Regions from separate parts of the Homo sapiens genome. Here all the other regions are linked to region 1. The links are contacts of gene promoters, found by promoter capture Hi-C in blood cells and fetal thymus (Javierre and others, 2016). All regions are on one chromosome and are shown on one strand. Each heading gives the region's core, a stretch centred on a gene start or on the middle of the fragment in contact. The rest is flanking DNA. Distances are from core to core; before and after follow the strand shown.

Evidence for each region. The method cuts DNA at HindIII sites, captures the fragments that hold promoters and counts their contacts. A CHiCAGO score of 5 or more calls a contact.
Region 2: a contact is called between a fragment that was not itself captured here and the fragment with the promoter of GDAP1 in region 1, in 1 of 17 cell types (fetal thymus). The highest score is 5.8, in fetal thymus.
Region 3: a contact is called between the fragment with the promoter of UBE2W here and the fragment with the promoter of GDAP1 in region 1, in 11 of 17 cell types (fetal thymus, total CD4 T cells, naive CD8 T cells and 8 more). The highest score is 17.3, in fetal thymus.
Region 4: a contact is called between a fragment that was not itself captured here and the fragment with the promoter of GDAP1 in region 1, in 1 of 17 cell types (fetal thymus). The highest score is 5.4, in fetal thymus.
Region 5: a fragment that was not itself captured here is called in contact with the fragment with the promoter of GDAP1 in region 1 in 1 of 17 cell types (fetal thymus); the score reaches 7.6 in fetal thymus.
Region 6: a contact is called between a fragment that was not itself captured here and the fragment with the promoter of GDAP1 in region 1, in 2 of 17 cell types (M2 macrophages and fetal thymus). The highest score is 5.6, in M2 macrophages.

Annotation. Positions count from the first base shown.
Region 1 is chr8:74,348,814-74,352,043 of GRCh38, forward strand. It overlaps GDAP1 (ganglioside induced differentiation associated protein 1), which reads left to right and starts at 1,590. Exons shown (of 6, transcript NM_018972.4): 1 at 1,590-1,765; 2 at 2,461-2,653. The coding sequence starts at 1,649. RefSeq lists an enhancer at 1,603-1,832. The HindIII fragment of the contact is 8,708 bases long and covers 1-2,420 here.
Region 2 is chr8:73,856,549-73,859,778 of GRCh38, forward strand. The region is part of intron 1 of UBE2W (ubiquitin conjugating enzyme E2 W); the gene reads right to left. Among named protein-coding and RNA genes, the nearest start is that of UBE2W, 21 kb to the right of the region's middle. The HindIII fragment of the contact is 4,198 bases long and covers 1-3,230 here.
Region 3 is chr8:73,877,230-73,880,459 of GRCh38, forward strand. UBE2W (ubiquitin conjugating enzyme E2 W) reads right to left here and starts at 1,633. Exons shown (of 6, transcript NM_018299.6): 1 at 1,579-1,633. The coding sequence starts at 1,593. LINC01617 (long intergenic non-protein coding RNA 1617) reads left to right here and starts at 1,753. Exons shown (of 3, transcript NR_147034.1): 1 at 1,753-3,230. RefSeq lists enhancers at 316-365, 842-1,719 and silencers at 1,106-1,365, 1,386-1,435, 1,576-1,865. The HindIII fragment of the contact is 3,471 bases long and covers 1-2,632 here.
Region 4 is chr8:73,961,500-73,964,729 of GRCh38, forward strand. The region is part of intron 1 of ELOC (elongin C); the gene reads right to left. Among named protein-coding and RNA genes, the nearest start is that of ELOC, 9.1 kb to the right of the region's middle. The HindIII fragment of the contact is 886 bases long and covers 1,105-1,990 here.
Region 5 is chr8:73,979,878-73,983,107 of GRCh38, forward strand. It overlaps TMEM70 (transmembrane protein 70), which reads left to right. Exons shown (of 3, transcript NM_017866.6): 3 at 1,278-2,906. The coding sequence ends at 1,744. It also overlaps the pseudogene RPS20P21. Among named protein-coding and RNA genes, the nearest start is that of TMEM70, 5.3 kb to the left of the region's middle. The HindIII fragment of the contact is 450 bases long and covers 1,409-1,858 here.
Region 6 is chr8:74,057,439-74,060,668 of GRCh38, forward strand. It overlaps a transcript of LY96 not described here. Among named protein-coding and RNA genes, the nearest start is that of LY96, 68 kb to the left of the region's middle. The HindIII fragment of the contact is 7,541 bases long and covers 1-3,230 here.

The DNA of each region.
Region 1 (3,230 bases), core at 340-2,839:
AATGGCTACATTCCAGGCAATACCCTAGGTGCTTTATATATATCCTTTCTTGAATTCCCACAGCCATCTGGGTAGGCATATAATTTTTATGTATCCATTTTTTACACACAATGAAGTCAAAGCTCAAGAAAGCTCAAGTTAGGGTAGAGCTAGAATTTAAACCCCACTCTGTCCGATTTCAAAGTTTTCCTCTTTCCGCTCTTACTCTTAAGTGTGAACTGATAAAAACAATTTTGGCAAGGAATTCACCTTTTCTATAGCACTTGAATTAACTGAAGGATATAAAAGACATTATGAAATCTTAAAAAATTATGAAAGAATTACAGAGAGTAACAAATGAAGTACTGTAAAGGCAAGGAAGAACCTCATGAGATTTTGTCTTTTCCAGGGGCCCTTCTCTGACCTGGGTTGGCTGCCTGCCCCTCCTTTCTCATAGTACTCTGTGTTCACCCTAAGACAGTTCTCATCTTTATTGTGATTGTCTATTTCCTTGGTCGTCTCTACTGCCAGATTATATCTTGAGTGTTAGATATTAGATTTCACACATCTTTATATTACCAGGAGCCAGCACAATGTCTGGAACAGTGTAGGTGCTCAATAAATATTTGCCAGATAAATTATACAGGCATTTATTCTATGGTCATATTTATACATATTACTGAAAGAGATTTTTAAAATCAACTTACTATATGATGCCAAATTTTTAAAGACATACAATAATAACTAGACTAATATAAAATTATGATTCTGACTATGGTTATAACAGAATGTTTATAAGACAACTGAACCTGTGACTAAGACTGAGTGCCTACAACGTGACAGGGTGTTCTGAGTGTTTAACATTTTATTATTAATTTTTCACAAAAATCTTATGAGGGAAACAATAAAATTATTATTCTTACTTAGAAAATGGAAAAACCAGGATATGAACTTAGGCAGTACTGTTGTAGAATTTTTGTGTTTAACAACTAGGCTATTTTATATCGCCATTGTTTATTAGCTGTTTATGACAAAAACAGTTTTTTTGCATGACTCCATAGTGGTATTTTTTTTTCTTTTACAAAGCACAGTTTAATTATCAAAATCAAGTACTTACTGTTTATACAAGACTATTCTCTAATCTACAGCAGTTAGTCAAATTTGTGGAATTAGTCCACTAATGTCATAGTAGCATCTTCTAATGAAAGCTCATAGATCCTTTTCCTGTTGCTTTGCTTGTCGACCGGAACTTCCTTTCCAACAAAGGAACAGGCTCCAAGAGCAACCCTCAGTATCTTGGGAAATTGCTGCTTTTATACCTGAGCAACCTCCAAACCGAAGAGTAATTTGCTATCATCATTCTTCCTTACTGCCCTTCATAACCAGGGTCTCATATTTTTTATTTTTTCTTCTAAAAAAAAAAACAAACCCAAAAAACAACCGTTCAATTGCACCTCCCAGGTGCACTCCCAGGCTTGCCAGGGGCTTTCCAGTCGCAGACCCCGCGTGTTCGCAGACTCTGCCGCCGGCGAAACTACATTTCCCAGCGGGCCGCGCGCCCTCCTTCCGGCAGGTACCCCTCAAAACCCGGAAACGCCTTGCGGGGCAGTGTGGGAGGGAGAAGTCCAGGGCGGACAGGCTGGGCGCACCCGTGCTCGCGCACCCCAAGATGGCTGAGAGGCAGGAAGAGCAGAGAGGGAGCCCGCCCTTGAGGGCGGAAGGCAAGGCCGACGCGGAGGTTAAGCTCATTCTGTACCATTGGACGCATTCCTTCAGCTCTCAAAAGGTACAACAGGCCTTGGCGGCGGAGGGTGGCGCGGATCGGGCTTCAGCACTGGGACAGCTCCTTCTGAGTCCCGCCCAGGGAAGCCGGTCCACCTAGAAATCCGCCTCCAGTGTCCTGACCCCGGGCAGGCGCTCCCTCCAGGCGGGGACGCGCCCGGGTGGGGAGCGGGGAGAATCGATCGGAGATGATCCTATGTGGCTATGGCCCAGGCTCCGCCTCTCGCGAAATGCGACAAAAAAGCATCATTTTCAGTATTTGGTCTGGAGGCCTTGCCTGCTGGTCTTCGGAGAGAGGCAGAGGGAGGTGCCTTTGTGGACCCTCATAATCTGCGATCTCTTCTTTTGCTCTCTCGCATTCACTGTCTTCAGCAAGAGCTGATGTACCTACATGTCAGGTTCTTGTCTGGGGAGGACCCATAATCAGGTTTAGGACACCGAGAAAGTGGTAGTGATGAGGAGGGTGACTGTTTAATGAATACAGTCAGAATCATTTCATTACTTATTTTGTGTTCTTCTCTTAATTTGTTGAGTATTGTTCTTTCCTTACTTGTTAATTCCAGGAATAGGAATTGTTAAAACGACTGTTGAAAATGTCGGTAACACAGGGAAGCCCAGAAAGGCTGCTTAGCGGTGTCCAGGGAAGTCATTTAATTGAAAGCTTACATGTGTTGTAGTAACCAGTGTGAACTCTTCCAGGTGCGCTTGGTAATTGCTGAAAAGGCATTGAAGTGCGAGGAACATGATGTAAGTCTGCCCTTGAGTGAGCACAATGAGCCTTGGTTTATGCGTTTGAACTCAACTGGAGAAGTGCCTGTCCTTATCCACGGGGAAAACATAATTTGTGAGGCCACTCAGATCATTGATTATCTTGAACAGACTTTCCTGGATGGTAATGTTAAGGCTACTTGCGATTTCTTGGATTTACTTTCAACACAACTATGTGTTCCCTTTCTCTTTTTCTCTCTCTCCTCTCTCTCTTTCTCTTGTGTCATGATGGTGGTTTGGGATTAAAAACCTTTTCCATTTCCATAAGCACACAAATATCAAATAGGTCAATAACAAATTTTGTATAGGCTAGTGTAATGCTATTTAAAATAATTTAATGCAAAATACAAATGTTAATGTTGAAACTTAAAAAAATTCACTTGCAAAAAACTGCAAATGTGTGGTTTGTGTTGGTGATTTCTTAGTCTTAAATTCATAATATTCTAAATGTGCACTGTGACGATTTCATCTAATATACCAAATGGTTTCACCTTAAAAACAAGAGGGAAAAAAGAGCAATAAATCTTAAAGGAGAATAGAATGTTAGTATACCTGAGTTCTTTGCCCCAGTCACTTCTGAATTGTTTGAATTTTATATCTTTACTAAGGAATTATAGGGCTTAAATTTGTATAGTGCATTTAGGTAAATCATTTATTAACAGCTTGTTATGTGTCAGACATTTTATAATTTCTTCAATAAT
Region 2 (3,230 bases), core at 216-2,715, 490 kb before region 1:
GAGACAGGGTCTCGCTGGTCTGGCTCGAACTCCTGACCTCAAGTGATCTGCCCGCCCTGGCCTCCCAAAATGCTGAGATTACAGGCATGAGCCACTGTGTCTGGCCACACTTATGCATTTCTAAGCACTCTTTACACAGAAGATTTCCATCAGCAGGAATAAATTTTTTTTTTTTGAGACAGGGTGTTGCTCTATTGTCCAGACTGGAGTGCAGTGGTGTGATCTCGGCTCACTGCAGCCTCCGCCTCCTGGGTTCAAGCCATTCTTGTGCCTCAGCCTCCCAAGTAGCTGGGACTATTGGCATGTGCCACCACACCTGGCTAATTTTTTGTATTTTTAGTAGAAAGGGGGTTTTGCTATGTTGGCCAGACTGGTCTCAAACTCCTGGTCTCAAGTGATCCGCCCACCTTGGCCTCCCAAAGTGCTGAGATTATAGACGTGAGCCACCATGCCCAGCCTAAAATCTTAAAATGAACCGCTAACTTTATGGTTCCAGGGTAGTTACTTTGTCAAGCCCAAATACACACATAATAACAAGACAGTTTGGGAAACTTTTTAATTCAAGGAAGAAAGTGATTTGTTTTCTTCTTTATCATGCTCAGGTATACTATACTGTGATTTTAGGGATTTTACCAATACTTTCTCCTGACATACTAGGTGGAAACTTGTATATGCTGGTCAGAGTCATCAACAAGTAGGAAAAAAAAAATCACATTTAATTCTTACAGGAAGATTTTCTAAGCTGAAAAATACAGCAAAAATGTTTAAACCCTGGCACTTAAGGTAGATAGCAAACTAAAGTATCTCATACATAGAGAACTGACCAAAATAAAAATACCAACTTTTTTCACTACAATAGTTTCAATGTATGTGTTCTAAAATATAATAATGTATTATAAAAGATTGCAAGTATGTAAGAGTATGTAAGATCAGTATTTTGATAAAGAGCAAGTTCAATCTTCTAAGCCTTCTTAAAAACAACTTTTGGGCCAGGCGCAGTGGCTCACACCTGTAATCCCAGCACTTTGTGAGGCCGAGATGGGCAGATCACAAGGTCAGGAGTTCGAGACCAGCCTGGCCAATATAGTGAAATCCTGTCGCTACTAAAAATACAAAAATTAGCCAGGTATGGTGGCAGACGCCTGTAGTCCCAGCTACTCAGGAAGCTGAGGCAGGAAAACTGCTTGAACCCGGGAGGTGGAGGTTGCAGTGAGCCGAAATCGCGCCACTGCACTCCAGCCTGGGTGACAGAGTGAGACTCCCCGTCTTAAAAAATAATGATAAATAAAAATAAAAATAAAAAAACCTTTTGCTTCAAAGTTTACATAAACTTGGGCCTCAGTTGCCAAAAGTAGCCATAGAATGATTCTGAGATTTTCAGAATACCTTTAAGCGGCTGGGCATGGTGGCTCACGTCTGTAATCTCACCACTTTGGAAGGCTAAGGCAGGCGGATCACCTGAGGTCAGGTGATTGAGACTAGCATGGCCAACATAGTGAAACCCCATCTCTACTAAAAATCCAAAAGTTAGGCAAGGCATGGTGGCTCACGCCTGTAATCCCAGCACTTTGGGAGGCCGAGGTGGGTGGATCACCTGAGGTCAGGGGTTCAAGACCAGCCTGGCCAACATGGTGAAACCCAGTCTCCAATAAAAATACAAAAATTAGTCGGGTGTGGTGGTGCACACCTACAGTTCCAGCTACTTAGGAGGCTGAGGCAGGAGAACTGCTTGAACCTGGGAGGCGGAGGCTGCAGTGAGCCGAGATTATGTCATTGCACTCCAGCCTGGGTGACAGAGCAAGACTTCATCTCAAAAAAAAAAAAAAAAAAAGAACATAAAATATATTTATGACAAGTTTCATTCTAAGAAGGAATTAAGAAATATGAAAAGTACAAATACTGACTTATAAAATCAGTTTTGACATCCTACGTTGCCAATTCAAGAAATTATCAGTTTAACTTTCAATCATTTTCAATTATTAAAACTACAGCAGCTGAATTTTTAAAAATTCAGTATATTAACTGTTGCCAGTTCATGAAGATTTAAAATAATTTAAAAATATATTTTTAAAAGAAAAGTCTGACTTCAGTCATAAGCAGACACCAAAAAAAAAGTCAATGTTAGAAAAAGTGCTAAAAAAAAAAAAAAAAAAGCAGCAGCTAGTACCTTTTAACACTATTTTTACTATTTAGGATCATGGGTAGTCCTTTCCAAGCCATCACCATTAACTGTCTTAACTTTCTGTTACTTGTACTTATTTTCATCACGAACTTGCAAGGCTTGCAAGGACTGAACCAACCTTCTCTATCATTAGGGGGGTTTTTGCGTGCGTGTGTGTGTGTGTGTGTGTGTGTGTGTGTTGGTTTTTTTGCTTTCTTTTTGGTGAGTCTTCTAAACTGAGCAATTTCTTCAAGCACAGGGGGTTTTTGCGTGTGTGTGTGTGTGTGTGTGTGTGTGTGTGTGTGTGTGGTGGTTTTTTTGCTTTCTTTTTGGTGAGAGTCTTCTAAACTGAGCAATTTCTTCAAGCACAGCTGACCCTCAACAACACAGGTTTGAACTGCACAGGTCCACTTATACATGGATTTTCTTCTGCCTTTGTCACTCCTGAGACAGCAAGACCAAACCCTCCTCTTCCTCTTCTCAGTCTATAACAAGGATAAAGATTTTTGTGACTAGCTGGGAATGGTGGCTCACGCCTGTAATCCCAGCACTTTGGGAGGCTGAGGCAGGGGGACCACTTGAAGCCCGGAGTTTGAGACCACCCTGGCCAACATGGTGAAACCTCATCTCTACTAAAAATACAAAAATTAGCTGGGCATGGTGGCGCGAGCCTGTAATCCCAGCTACTGGGGAGGCTGAAGCAGGAGAATCACTTGAACCCAGGAGGTGGAGGCTGCAGTGAGCTGAGATTGCGCCACTGCACTCCAGCCTGGGTGACAGAGTACTTAATGAATAGTAAATATATTTTCGCTCATGATTTTCTTAATAACATTTTTTCTCTATCTTACTTTATTGTAAGAATAGAGTATATAATACATATATCACACAAAATATGTGTTAATCAACTGTTTATCTTATAGGTTAGGTTTCCAGTTAACAGTAAGCTATTAGTACTTAAGTTTTTGGGAAGTAAAGTTATATACGGATTTTTGACTGCACAGGTGGTTGGCTTCCTGTTGTTCAAGGGTTAACTGTAAATTAGAAGAATCTGAAGTAAAGCTCTGTCATC
Region 3 (3,230 bases), core at 383-2,882, 470 kb before region 1:
ATTGCATCTACTGTTCAACTAGCATTCCACTGTTCCTTTTTTGGCCTCAAATGACGAAACTTCTCCAACGTCTCTGGGGAGACTAGTGTAAAGTATAATGTTTCCTGAAATTGTTCCTGTTTTTTCCCTGCACCATTCGTGATATCTCTTCAACTAGAAATGTTACATAAAACTTTTCTGTTCTGCAGGCAAGTCCAGAGGGAGAAGCAAGGTAAAGAGAATATTGTAAGGAAAACAGGTTGAAAGGGGAATAACATAAAAGCACAGGAGTAAATGTGAAGCAAAGCTATATTTGTACAAAAGAGGAAGAAGATGCAGAAAAGGGAAGAAAAACACTTTTAGCAGAGTAAAGAAAAAAAAATGGAGGAGGAACAGAGACTTGCTTCTTCCAGAAACAAAAGCAAAAAACACTTCTAAGAAAATGTGGTCTCTTTACCCAAGGGGATATTATGAAAACGCTAAAGGGTACTCAGCTGACACTCCTATTGAGCGTTCTACTTTCTCTTCCAATGCCTTTGATACCGCTAGTCTTCACCTGTGAATTAAATGCAGGCTACAGATAACGCACTCAATCCCTGCACAACTACAATTGTGGTTGCCATCTTTGCCTGGAAACAAAAAACAAAAAAACCCACAACTCCCTAGATTCGGGAAAAAGGAGTAAATTAAGTTGGAAAGCCAGAAAACCACGCCTTGCTAAGTCGGGGGGATATGGCACAGGTTAACAAACGCCTCCTACCAAACTAAGGTTCCACTAAAGGTCTGGGAATAAGGGCAAAGAGATGTATAGCCTTATCGCGACCGCAAGGGTGGGGCCTTGCAGTGGGAAACAAAATAGAAGGCAAGCTATCCCGAGAGGTTTAAGGGGGCTGAGGACTCGGCTCTCGGGAGATCGCCCATCAGGCGGTGGACACGGGGCAGCTTCGAGAGGAAGGAGACAGTGGACTGCTGGAGGAATGTCCGCGAGAATACCGAGGCTGATGGAAATAGAAGATACCCACGGGCACAGGATTAAGAGTCAAAGGGAAGAAGAGAGGGACGGGGCCGAGCAGTCTGGGGGGCCCGGCGTGGGAGGCCGGAGCAGAGGCCGCTAAGCGCCGTCCGCAGCCAGCCGCCTTCTCCGGAGACGCATTCTCGGCTCCCGCACACTCAGCCCCCCGCCGCCCCTGCCCCGGCAACAACCGCGGGCGCAGCTGTTTCCGTCGGGCCAGGGACAGCGGGGGTAAAGGCAACCCTGGGGCTGGCGGGCAGCAGACTGGCAGCGCCCGTGTGTGTGTGCGGGGAGCCGATTCTGAGACCGCCAACGCCAGACTTTGCCCTTTCTTCCCCAACCCTCCTTTATCACCCAACTTCCCGGCCGGCTGGTGTCCGCTTCGACCGACGGATACCGCACCCCCCACAACGCCTCTCGCCGCCTCTTACCCCTCCCCCGACGCCCTGAGCTGAGGGAAAACAGGCCACCCGGACCGATCCCGAACCCGCCCGGGTGTCCCCGAATCGCGGACGCCACCCCCGCCCGAACGCTGGCACTCTCTCGGCGGCTCCCTGGCCCGCCCAGATGCAGCAAACTCCTCTCACCTGCATTGACGCCATGATGGAACCATCCCCCCAAGACCGGCGAGGCCAGAGACGCAGGGGGAGGAGCTGCCGTGCTCGCGTCACGCCGCGGGGGCTCAACATCCCGGGCGCGGGGGCGGGGTCTGCGATGGGAAGGGGATGGAGCGAGGGGATTGGCTGGCGCGCAGGGCGGACGGGAGGAGGGGCTACGGGGCGGGGCGAGGGCGCGGTAAATGGCGCTCTGAGTACTTTCTGTCTCAGTCCGGCTGGCCGCTCACGCGTCGGGCCCCCATTTACTCTCGTTACTGAGGAGACACGGCTCCAGTTTTGACCCGACTACGGTTGTTTTCTTCGTGTGTACCGCGAAATGCTGATGACGTCCGGTTCCGCGCAGTTTTTTTCCTATTTCGTTTCCAACCACAGTTGTGCGGTTCACAGATTTTTCCCTTGGGATGTGTTTTCCATACCTCCAAGCCCACTCTCAGAGCCTTGGGGCCCCATAAAACTTCATGCGCAGCTGCTTTCTGGTATTTGCAGACCTGGAAGGCTTCTCGTATTCTTAATTTGGGGAAGAGAGACATAGGTTTCCTTGTACAACGGGATGAGGATTTAAGAGCAGAACGACACTGATATTTTAAAGGCGAGGGTATTTAGATTTGTGGAGCTGAAACTTGCCTGAAAAGGGAGACAAAATTTGGAAGTTTGTTGTGTGCAGTTTCTGCCCCTTACCCCCGCCCTTCACTTTTAAACTGCGCATATATCAACAATAGTTACGGTTGTTGCAGCAGTCTAAATTTGATTATCAGAATTGACCCTAGGCATGAATTTTTTTTTAAATATACCAATGTCGTGTTATATACACTTATACCATTATGTCCAGACTTCTCTTAAGCATAGTTCGTGGTGGGCAGTTTTGTGGTCATTTAGGGATGAACTTGGGTAGGGAAAGCTGAGCATACATAATTTATTTTAGGAATGCACCAGTTCTGCCAACATTTATCAGAAGTCACGTTTTTAAAAAGCTATTCTGGAACTGAAGATGTCATTGGTTTATAAGAGGAAAATGGAAGCCAAAAGCTTACACCTCATGCTCTATCTTTAAAAATTAAGGTGGCAGACACAATGAGTAGAAGGCTTTTATGTTACCAGAATGAAGGCTTAAAATCTGTCATTTTATTGACTCGGCTTTCTTTTTAGAAATTTCTTTAAGATATAAAAGCAATGTGGAATATCACTCTTTCACACTCTTAAAATAGATTACGTTCTCTGGAACTTCTCTAATCTGAAATGTGTTCAAAAAGGAAAAAGATCTTTAAAATACGCCAGTTAGTCTATGGTATAATATTAAACACTATTCATCACTAGAGAAGTTATGGTGGTATACCCTCCCCTTTCTCAGATGTCCACCTTAATGCCAGAAATGAGCGGAGTTTCCCTTTGTTGTGCAAAATGACTGTGTCCTTGAGGGATGTTTGGATGCTCTTGGTAAACCGGAATCAGCCAGAAGCATATCCGGTGTTAGCCTTGTTGTGTCATCAACATTACAACAGTGAGGAAACCCACATATTCCAATGAAAGAGGAAAACTTAAAGAAGAAGTTTCCAGTGTATTTTCTTTGAGATATATTTATTCCTATGACCTCAGAAGATCAGCTTTTACCGTCCAAGGTTCAC
Region 4 (3,230 bases), core at 298-2,797, 390 kb before region 1:
AAAGTACCATCACTCTCTCTTTTTTTTTTTTTGAGAGGCAGTCTTGCTCTATTGCCCAGGCTGGAGTGCAGAAGCACGATCTCAGCTCACAGCAACCTCTGCCTCCCAGGTTCAAATGATTTGCCCGCCTCAGCCTCCCCAGTAGCTGGGATTACAGGCGTCTGTCACCGTGCCTGGCTAATTTTTGTATTTTAGTAGAGACCAGGTTTCGCCATGTTGGCCAGGCTGGTCTCGAACTCCTGACCTCAGGTGATCCACTTGCCTCAGCCTCCCAAAGTACCATTTCTAATTTGAGATAAAGCAGAGAAAATAGGCAGCACTAACAATTAAATCTGATGAGCCTTTTGCAGGCCTAAGAAGCGGTAAACACTGTACTAAATGCCTTACATACATTATCTTGTTTATTTATTTTTTGAGACAGAGTCTCACTCTTTGGCCCAGGCTGGAGTGCAGTGGCGTGATCTTGGCTCACTGCAACCTCTGCCTTCCAGGTTCAAACGATTCTTGTGCCTCAGCCTCCCGAGTAGCTGGGACTACAGGTGCATGGGACCATGTCCAGCTAATTTTTGTATTTTCAGTAGAGACGGGGTTTCACCATGTTGGCCAGGCTGGTCTTGAGCTCCTGACCTCAAGTGATCCACCCAACTCAGCCTCCCAAAGTGCTGGGAGTACAGGTGTGAGCCACTGTGCCTGGCCTATCTTATTTAAAAACAACTCTTCCACAAGGGAATTATTCTGATTTTAGAGATGAGAAACACTGGAAGAGTCTGCTACTTGTTGAAGGCTTCTACAGCTTAAGTGGCAGCGTTAGGATTTAAACCTAGGTAGGTCTGACTTCACAGCCCACATTCCACTCCTTCCATTATTGCCTACTACCACAGTAAAAAATTCTGGCTCCAGTTAAACTTAATTGCCACAATTCCCAACAGCTACTGATGTAAATCCTCAAATAGTTCTCTAAAATTTAAAAATAGTACTGTCATTTTATGATACTACGCAATTTAAAAATTCATGAGAGCCATTATTATTTTCTTTTCATTATACTGCTTTGTAAATACTCTTTTAAAAAACAAAACAAAAAAAAAAACAAAACAAATGCGAGAAAGCTTGAAGTACAAGAATTTCAAGGGCCAACTCTTTTATCTGGAAAATCCCTAGAATAAAACATTTAGGATGTTTATCTAACTAGCAGTAGCTAAGCAACAATGCAAAGTCACATCTTAGGAGCCCTTTGGGTAGCAACAGTTTCTCTACAGAGTTAATGTAGTAAATCAATTCCATCATTTTATACAACAGAGATTAAGGAGAGAAGAGGAGACCCACCCTTTCTCCCACCTTTGAAAGGGAAAATCAACATTAAGAGTTAAAATTCCTAATTCTTAGGTAGAAGTTAGAAATATTTAAAATATGATTCAGTTTGGACCCAATCCATAAGTTATCTAAAGAAATATAAGTTTGAGGAGACAAAAATTTCAGCTTGAACATGTATTCCATCACAGAGCTGAATTCTGGAAATATGAATTGGGCAGGTAAAAGCCACTCGTAGGGGAACCGCTGGATTGAGAATAGTTCTAGGCAGAAGAAAGAGCATGAACAATGGCCTGAGACGTCATTATGCTTTTAAGGTGTTACATATAAATATTAATCTCTTAAAGTTTTTTTGTGTATGTTTGTGTTTAATAACAAATACTTAAAAAATCTAGGTGAGCCTAGGGCCTACACTGAAATTAAGTGTTGAATCTAGTATCAGTGAATATTTATAAGATATTTGAATAGCTTATCCTTTGATTTGAAATATTACCTTTATCATATTCTATATTGCTACATGAAATTCTAGACTATATTCTGTACAGGAATAGTTGGGTAAGTCTCCATTTTGTTCTCACATGTTTCTTGTTAGGTCTACTTTTAGGTACTTTTAAGTTTCCATTATGAATGGGGTCTGTTTTACTATGATATTTTCTGAAAGGCTATTGCTCGTGTTGTTAAAAGCTTTAAAATGTCCTAAGTTGATTTTGCATCCCGTCATTTTTTTTGCAGAACTCATATAAGTTTTAATAGTTTTTCAGTTGACTTACTTGAATTACCTAAGTAGATAACAGACACTGCTGCAAAATCTGTTCTTCATATCTTTTTGTCTTTTTACATTGGCTATTTACTTGGATAAAATAAGGTTAGAACAGATCACTCACAAAAATACACTACAGATTAAAGAGCCAAATGTAAAATATCCATAAAAATCCATGAACTCTGGAAAAATAGCAGAAAAAAGAATACAACTAGCTTAGACAGGTATAAAAATGCTTGATGGGGCTGGGTGTGATGGCTCACGCCTATAATCCCAGCACTTTGGGAGGCCGAAGGGGGTGGATCACCTGAGGTCAGGAGTTCGAGACTAGCCTGACCAACATGGTGAAACCCCGTCTCCACGAAAAATACAATAATTAGCTGGGTGTAGTAGTGGGTGCCTGTAATCCCAGCTACTCGGGAGGCTGAGGCAGGAGAATGGCTTGAACCCAGGAGGCGGAGGTTGCAGTGAGCCAAGACTGCGCCACTGCACTCCAGCCTGGGCGATAAGAGTGAAATTCCGTCTCAAAAAAAAAAAAAAAAAAAAGTATTACATATAGTAGTGTGGATTGCAACAGGTAATCACAGTATGTTAAGTGGTCCCTGGATAGTGAATGATGGTTCTCTGTAGTTTATATTTTGGTGGGCTACAGTTGTTTCATATCAACTTATAAATGGCCAAAAAAAAAAAAAAAAAAGATAAGCACAGATTTCCTGAATCCTTATATGGAAAAGTGAGTCAAAGGTCAAAGCGTATGGTGAGAAAGGACAGTCTCTTCAACAAAGGAAGCTGGAACAATATCCATATGGATAAGAAGCTCACTGTTAAACCATACACAAAAATCAATTTCAGATGGTTCACAGAATTCAACTTAAAATGCAAAATAAGGCTACTAGAAGAAAACAAATTATTTTCATACCCTCACTGTAGGCAAAGATTTCTCAGCAGCCAGGTGCAGTGGCTCACACCTGCAATCGCAACACTTTGGGAGGGAGATCACTTGAGGTCAGGAATTTGAGACCAGCCGGGCACTCCAGCCTGGGCCACACAGCAAGACTCTGTCTCAAAAAACAAAACAAAAATCTCAGAAAAGATGCAAAAAGCACAAATTGTAAATGAAAAACTTGATGAACTGCATTTCTCCAAAACAAAACTTCTGTTC
Region 5 (3,230 bases), core at 384-2,883, 370 kb before region 1:
TTGGCTAATTAAAAAAAATTTTTTTTGTAGAGACAGGTCTTCCTATGGTGCCTAGGCTGGTCTCAAACTGGTCTCAAGCAGTCCTTCTGCCTACACCTTCCAAAGTGCTGAGATTACAGGCATGAGCCACTGCACTCTGCTAGAAGTCATTTATTTTTAATCTTTCTAAGGTAATAGGTAAAAATGGTATCTCAGTGTTTTTTTTGTATTTTTTATTATTTATTTATTGAGACGGAGTTTTGCTCTTGTTGCCCAGGCTGGAGTGCAGTGGCACAATCTGGGCTCACTGCAACCTCCACCTCCCAGGTTCAAGCAATTCTCCTGCCTCAGCACCCCCAGTAGCTGGGATTATAGGTGCATGCCACCAAGCCTGGCTAATTTTTGTATTTTTAGTAGAGACAGGATTTCGCCATGCTGGCCAGGCTGCTTATCTCATTGTTTTAACTTGAATGTCTTTCCTTACTAAAGAAATTGAATACCTTTCCCATATGTTTCTGTTTTTTTTTTTTGAGATGGAGTCTCGCTTTGTCTCCCAAGCTGGAGTGCAGTGTGCAGTCTTGGCTCACTGCAGCCTCTACCTCCTGGGTTCAAGGATTTTCCTGCCTCAGCCTCCTGAATAGCTGGGATTACAAGCACTTGCCACCATGCCCAGCTAATTTTTGTATTGTTAGTAGAGATGGGAGTTTCACCATGTTGGCCAGGCTGGTCTCGAACTCCTAACCTCAAATGACCCACCTGCCTCAGCCTCCCAAAGTGCTGGGATTACAGGCATGAGCCAATGCGCCTGGCCGTCCGATATGTTTTTTAACCACTGGTTTTATTTCTCTGGTGATTTGCTGTTTTAATCCTGGGCACTTAGCCTGATAGAATTTCCCATGTTTGAATATTTTATGTTAGATATACTGGAGTGCTTGTTAATAGAGAGTTTTGTTTGATAATCTGCTATCTGAATCAACTTTTGTAGTACAATATTAGTAAGGATCTTTAAGTAATATTAACTACTTTATTGTGGAACTGAGGTAGGGCCACTTAAACCCTAAAGCAGATTTCCTGCCTGGAGAGGCAGTGCATTCTAATGGTCAGTAGCAGGGACATTGAAGTCAAAATATGTAAAGTCCTTAAAACAGAGCTTAGAATATAATAAGCACTGTATTTATGGTTTGATTTTGTTGTCTTGAGCTGATACAGTAAGAAGAAAAATGGAAGAATTAGTGGGATAGATTGATTCTTTTATAAAATTTAAAAGTATTGATCCTCTCTCTTTTTTTCCCATTTAGGTGTGAAATGTTTCTCTTATTCTACGAGTCTGATTGGCCTTACATTTCTGCCATACATTTTTACACAAAATAATGCTATTTCTGAAAGTGTGCCTCTGCCTATTCAAATCATATTCTATGGCATCATGGGAAGCTTTACGGTGATCACCCCAGTGCTGCTTCACTTTATTACAAAAGGCTATGTCATTCGATTGTACCATGAGGCCACAACAGACACTTATAAAGCCATTACCTACAATGCTATGCTTGCAGAAACGAGTACAGTGTTTCACCAGAATGATGTGAAGATTCCAGATGCTAAACATGTATTTACCACATTTTATGCTAAAACAAAATCACTGTTAGTTAATCCAGTGCTCTTTCCAAACCGTGAAGACTATATCCATCTAATGGGTTATGACAAAGAAGAATTTATTTTGTATATGGAAGAAACCAGTGAAGAGAAACGGCATAAAGATGACAAATGAGCCTATTTGTTAGTGTTCGTGCTCAAATGTGATTTACGTTTTAATGTATAATAATAAAATTGCCTTTTGCATTCCGTTAGTGACTGATTGTTAAAAATAATTTGAAATTATCAAAGCTTTTAATTTCCAGAGAATGATGTTTGTTTATAATAAAACAAGCTATGTTTGAAAACCAAAATGTAGTATCTACCATTCGTGTTTTAGAAAGGTATGTGAATAAATATGTTCATGCTAGTATAAGAGTTCTGTGTTACTGTGGTTGACTCTAAACTGGGGATCTGATGTCAGTAGCAAATGGGAGAGTTGCTTTATTCTTTGTGTATGGATTTTTCTAAGTGTATAAATATTTTCCGACATTAAAAGACATTTTCTCTTTGAGGAAGACACAGTCATAGGTGGTGCGGAGCTGTGGTCCACCTGCTCCTGCTCCTGACTCACTGCTCTTTGCTGTTGCCTGAGGACCAAGTCTGTCAGGAAGCTGGCTAGGAAGCCTTGCAGCAGCCATGGCTTTTAAACATACCAGAAAAACACCCGTGGAGTCAGAGGTGGCAATTCACCGAATTCATATCACTCTAACGAGTTGCAACGTAAAATCCCTGGATAAGGTGTGTGCTGACTTGATCTGAGGAGCAAAGGAAAAGAATCAGTGAAAGGACCAGTTTGAATGCCTACCAAGACTTTGAGAATCACTACAAGAAAAACTTACGGTGAAGGTTCTAAGGCATGGGATCGTTTCCAGATGAGAATCCACAAGCGACTCATTGACTTGCGCAGTCCTCAGATAGTTAAGCAGATTACTTCCATCAGTATTGAGCCAGGAGTTGAGATGGAAGTCACCATTGCAAATGCTTAAGTCAACTGTTTTCATAAATTGATTACCAGTTGTTAAAAAATTTTCAAAAAACCGCAAAATTTCAAGAAATTCACAAATTATGGGAGCAGTTTTAAGTCTTCTTTGGTTCAGAACACAGGTTTTTGCCTAACCCCTGGCATGATTGCCCATAAGAACATACATGTACAGTTGAACTGGTGGTTAGCTATACGGGAAATGGTAAGTAGTGTTGTCTTCAGTATCTTAATTTGTTTCTGCAACTGTGCACTCCTCCCTTGGTGGCACCCTATGGGTGTAGGAAAACCACTGTTATTAAACAGGTGAAAAATACCTTGTGTAAAATTGCTGTCTCTATGCTAGCTTTGTCAAGAATATCCATTGTAAGATTTTTACCTCTATTGTAAAGTGGAGATTGACTCTTGCCAAGGATTTTTAGCCAGGAACAAGAGGCCTCAAACCACACTATTTAGATCAGTAGATATTTACTAAGTGCCCAGTACTGTGCTAGTTACTAAGATCACAGTTAAGAATGAAACACCCCGTCTGTCTTTATGGAGCTACCTAACATTGTCTATGGCCACCATGATAGTAAATTTAAACTTTATGGCGTACATGTGTATGAGGGAGGTTGATGGGGAAGCAGCAGGAACATCT
Region 6 (3,230 bases), core at 487-2,986, 290 kb before region 1:
GATCATCCTCAGAAGGTAACTGGAAGGTCATTTAAATTTGATTCTTTTCTCACTTTTAGAAAAAGAATATGCTGACTCCCTTATTCTAAGACAGCTCTCAGAGGCTCTTCAAACACAGCCATGTCTCATGTAGGTGACTCACATTTCTGAGGAACTCTGGAATAGGCCCAATTTCACTGTCCCCTGCCACACAGAAATCATGATTGTTGGGGCATATCTTCACACTCCCACTTAGGTTTCTCTCATCCTGCTAAGGCTTCCTTTAGGTCATTGATATGTATCAGTTTTAATTTGAGTGGTCTGAACTCACTAAAATGGCGACTTGGTAGCCAGGCTCACACCTGCAATTTTACTCTAACAGCTTAATTTCCTTACCTTACGTTTTATTCTCTGTTAAAGTAATCCAGGGGATGAGGTGTTAGCATAAGTTATGCTTCAGTATAAAAATGCGGAATAGAAGGGATAGAAAAGGGCAGTGAACATCTGTGGAGTAGAAAAGGGTTCCAGCTAGAGGTGAAAGCATGCATTCACTTTCTGGGATCCAGCCTGCCGTGATTACCTTCTTAGGCCTTCAATACTTCGTGAGCCTAAGGGCAGCTAGTAGTCCTGTTTGAAGAGGATACTTCTCCAGGTCTAGGCTTGAACAAATATGCCTGGGAGACTCCTATGACTCTAGCATATTAGATAGATGCTCCAAGAAACACTAGGACAGACTTTCTTTTGATTTCTTGTAAGGGTGAAAAAAAAAAACTAAAATATTACAACACAGATTATGCTGAACACATTCCCATTATCTTCCAGAGTGGTCTATTAAAATGCATTTCCATTTTATTTTCTTCATGATAGTTTTAATTATATTAAGCTGATCCAGAGGAAACTTCTGGATTATAACTTTAATTTCTACCTTAAACCTAAACTTTCTGCTACTCATGAACTTTAGCTTTTGAAAATATCATCCACTGCAAAACCTTTATGGAGAAAAATTTAAGTTTACTAGAGAATGTATTAGTCAGGGTTCTCCAGAGAAACAGAAGCAAAAGGATACTTACATATCTACACCTATCTATCTATCTAGAAAGTTTTTCTTTTTTTTTTTTTTTGGATGGAGTCTTGCTTTGTCACCCAAGCTGGAAGGCAGTGGCGCAATCTCGGCTCACTGCAACCTCCACCTCCTGGTTTCTAGCGATTCTCCTGCCTCAGCCTCCAGAGTAGCTGGGATTAAAGGCATGTGCCATGACGCTGGGCTAATTCTTGTATTTTAAGTAGAGATGGGGTTTCATCATGTTGGCCAGGCTGGTCTTGAACTCCTGACCTCAGGAGATCCACCCGCCTCAGCTTCCCAAAGTCCTGGGATTACAGGCATGAGCTACTGTGCCCGGCTGAAAGAGATTTATTATAAGATATTGGCTCATGCAATTATACGGAATGAGAAGTCCCACAGTTTGCTGTCTGCAAGCTGGAGACCTAGGAAAAGCCAGTGACGTAGTTCAAGGCCTGAGAACCAGGAGTGCCAAGGGCAGGAATTGATGTTTCAGCTCAAGCAGTCAAGCAGAGAGAGGATAATCCAAACTTCCTCCACCTTCTTGTTCTATTTAGGCCTTCCACGGATTGAATGATGTCCACCCACATTGGGGAAGGCCATCATCTTTACTCAGTCCACCAATTCGAGTACTAACCTCTTCTGGAAACACCCTCATAGACACACCCAGCAATAGTGTTTAATCAGATATCTGAGCATACTGTGGCCCAGGCAAATTGGTACATAAAATTAACTATCACAAAGGACACGAAAGAACAGCTGAAGAAATGAAGAAATCTAACATATTTATGGAAGCAAATGCTTGATAGAAAGATGTGAATTCTCCATAAATTAAATTATGAATTTAATGCAGTTCTAATAAAAATCCCAACATTATTGTGTGGAACTTAACAAACAGATTCTAAGAACTTCTAGCCAAGACATTCTAAAAAAGAAGCAGGAGGTGGGGATTTCTCTATCAGATATAAAGACATTTTTAAAAAGTTGTATAAATAAAACTGTACTACTGACACAGAATAGATAATTAGATCTGGGAACAGATTATATTTATAGGGACTTTCCATATACCCGTTGGAAAAGGGTAAATTCAATAAATGGCATTGCCAAAATTCACCTTCCTTATGGAAAAAAAATAAAATGAAATGTCTAATTCACATTTTTGAGTAGTTAAATTTCCAAAAAAGTTAAATTTCAAATGGATTACAGGTCTAAATGTGAAAAGCAAAACTTCAAAACTATTATAAGAAAATCTACTTAAAACTATTAGGAGAACAGCTTTATGATCTCAGGGCAAAATATTAGGCAAACAAGACACAAACAACAAAAGTATGAAATAAAAAAAGAGATAAATTTTGTTACATCCAAAACTTCAAACTTTGCTTGGGCGCAGTGGCTCAGGCCTGTAATCCCAGCACTTTGGGAGGCTGAGGTAGGTGGTAGCACTTGAGCTCAGGAATTTGAGACCAGCCTGGGCAACGTGGTGAAACCTTGTCTCTACTAAAAATACAAAAATTAGCTGTGCGTGGTGGTGTGCACGAGTGGTCCCAGCTACTCAGGGGGCTGAGGTGAGAGCCCAGGGGGCTGAGGTGAGCCCAGGAGGCAGAGGTTGCAGTGAGCCAGGATCATGCCACTGCACTCTACCCTGGGAGGGAGAGCCAGACCTTGTTTCAAACAACAACAACGACGACGACGACGACGACGACAACGAAAAACTTCCAACTCTTATTGTCAAAAGAAAAAAATACCATTAACAAAGATAAAAGTTAAGTGTCTGTCTGAGAGGTGTTTTCAGTTATAACAAACAATTGATATCCAGAAAATGTTTTCTTAAAATTTTATAAATCAATTAGCAAAGTTAAAAAAATCTAATGGGATAGGCAATAGGCCATTCTTAGCCTTCAGGTCTTGGCTTAAAATTCACTACCTATCGGAACCCTGACTTTCAGTCGGGGTAATTATATCACAATACTTTTCACTCTTAAATCATTTTTCCTTGTTGAACACCTAGACAGTGAACTCCTAGAGAGGAGGAAACAAATCTGAGGTGTTTTTTCTCTCCACTTTTGAGTCTCAGCTTCTTGCACATAATAGGTGTTCGATAAATATATGTCGAAAGACTGATGGAGTAAATGAATAAACCTGAGTCCCTCCTTGACCCTTGCGTACTGCACAGGCATAGCCCTCTCTTTGC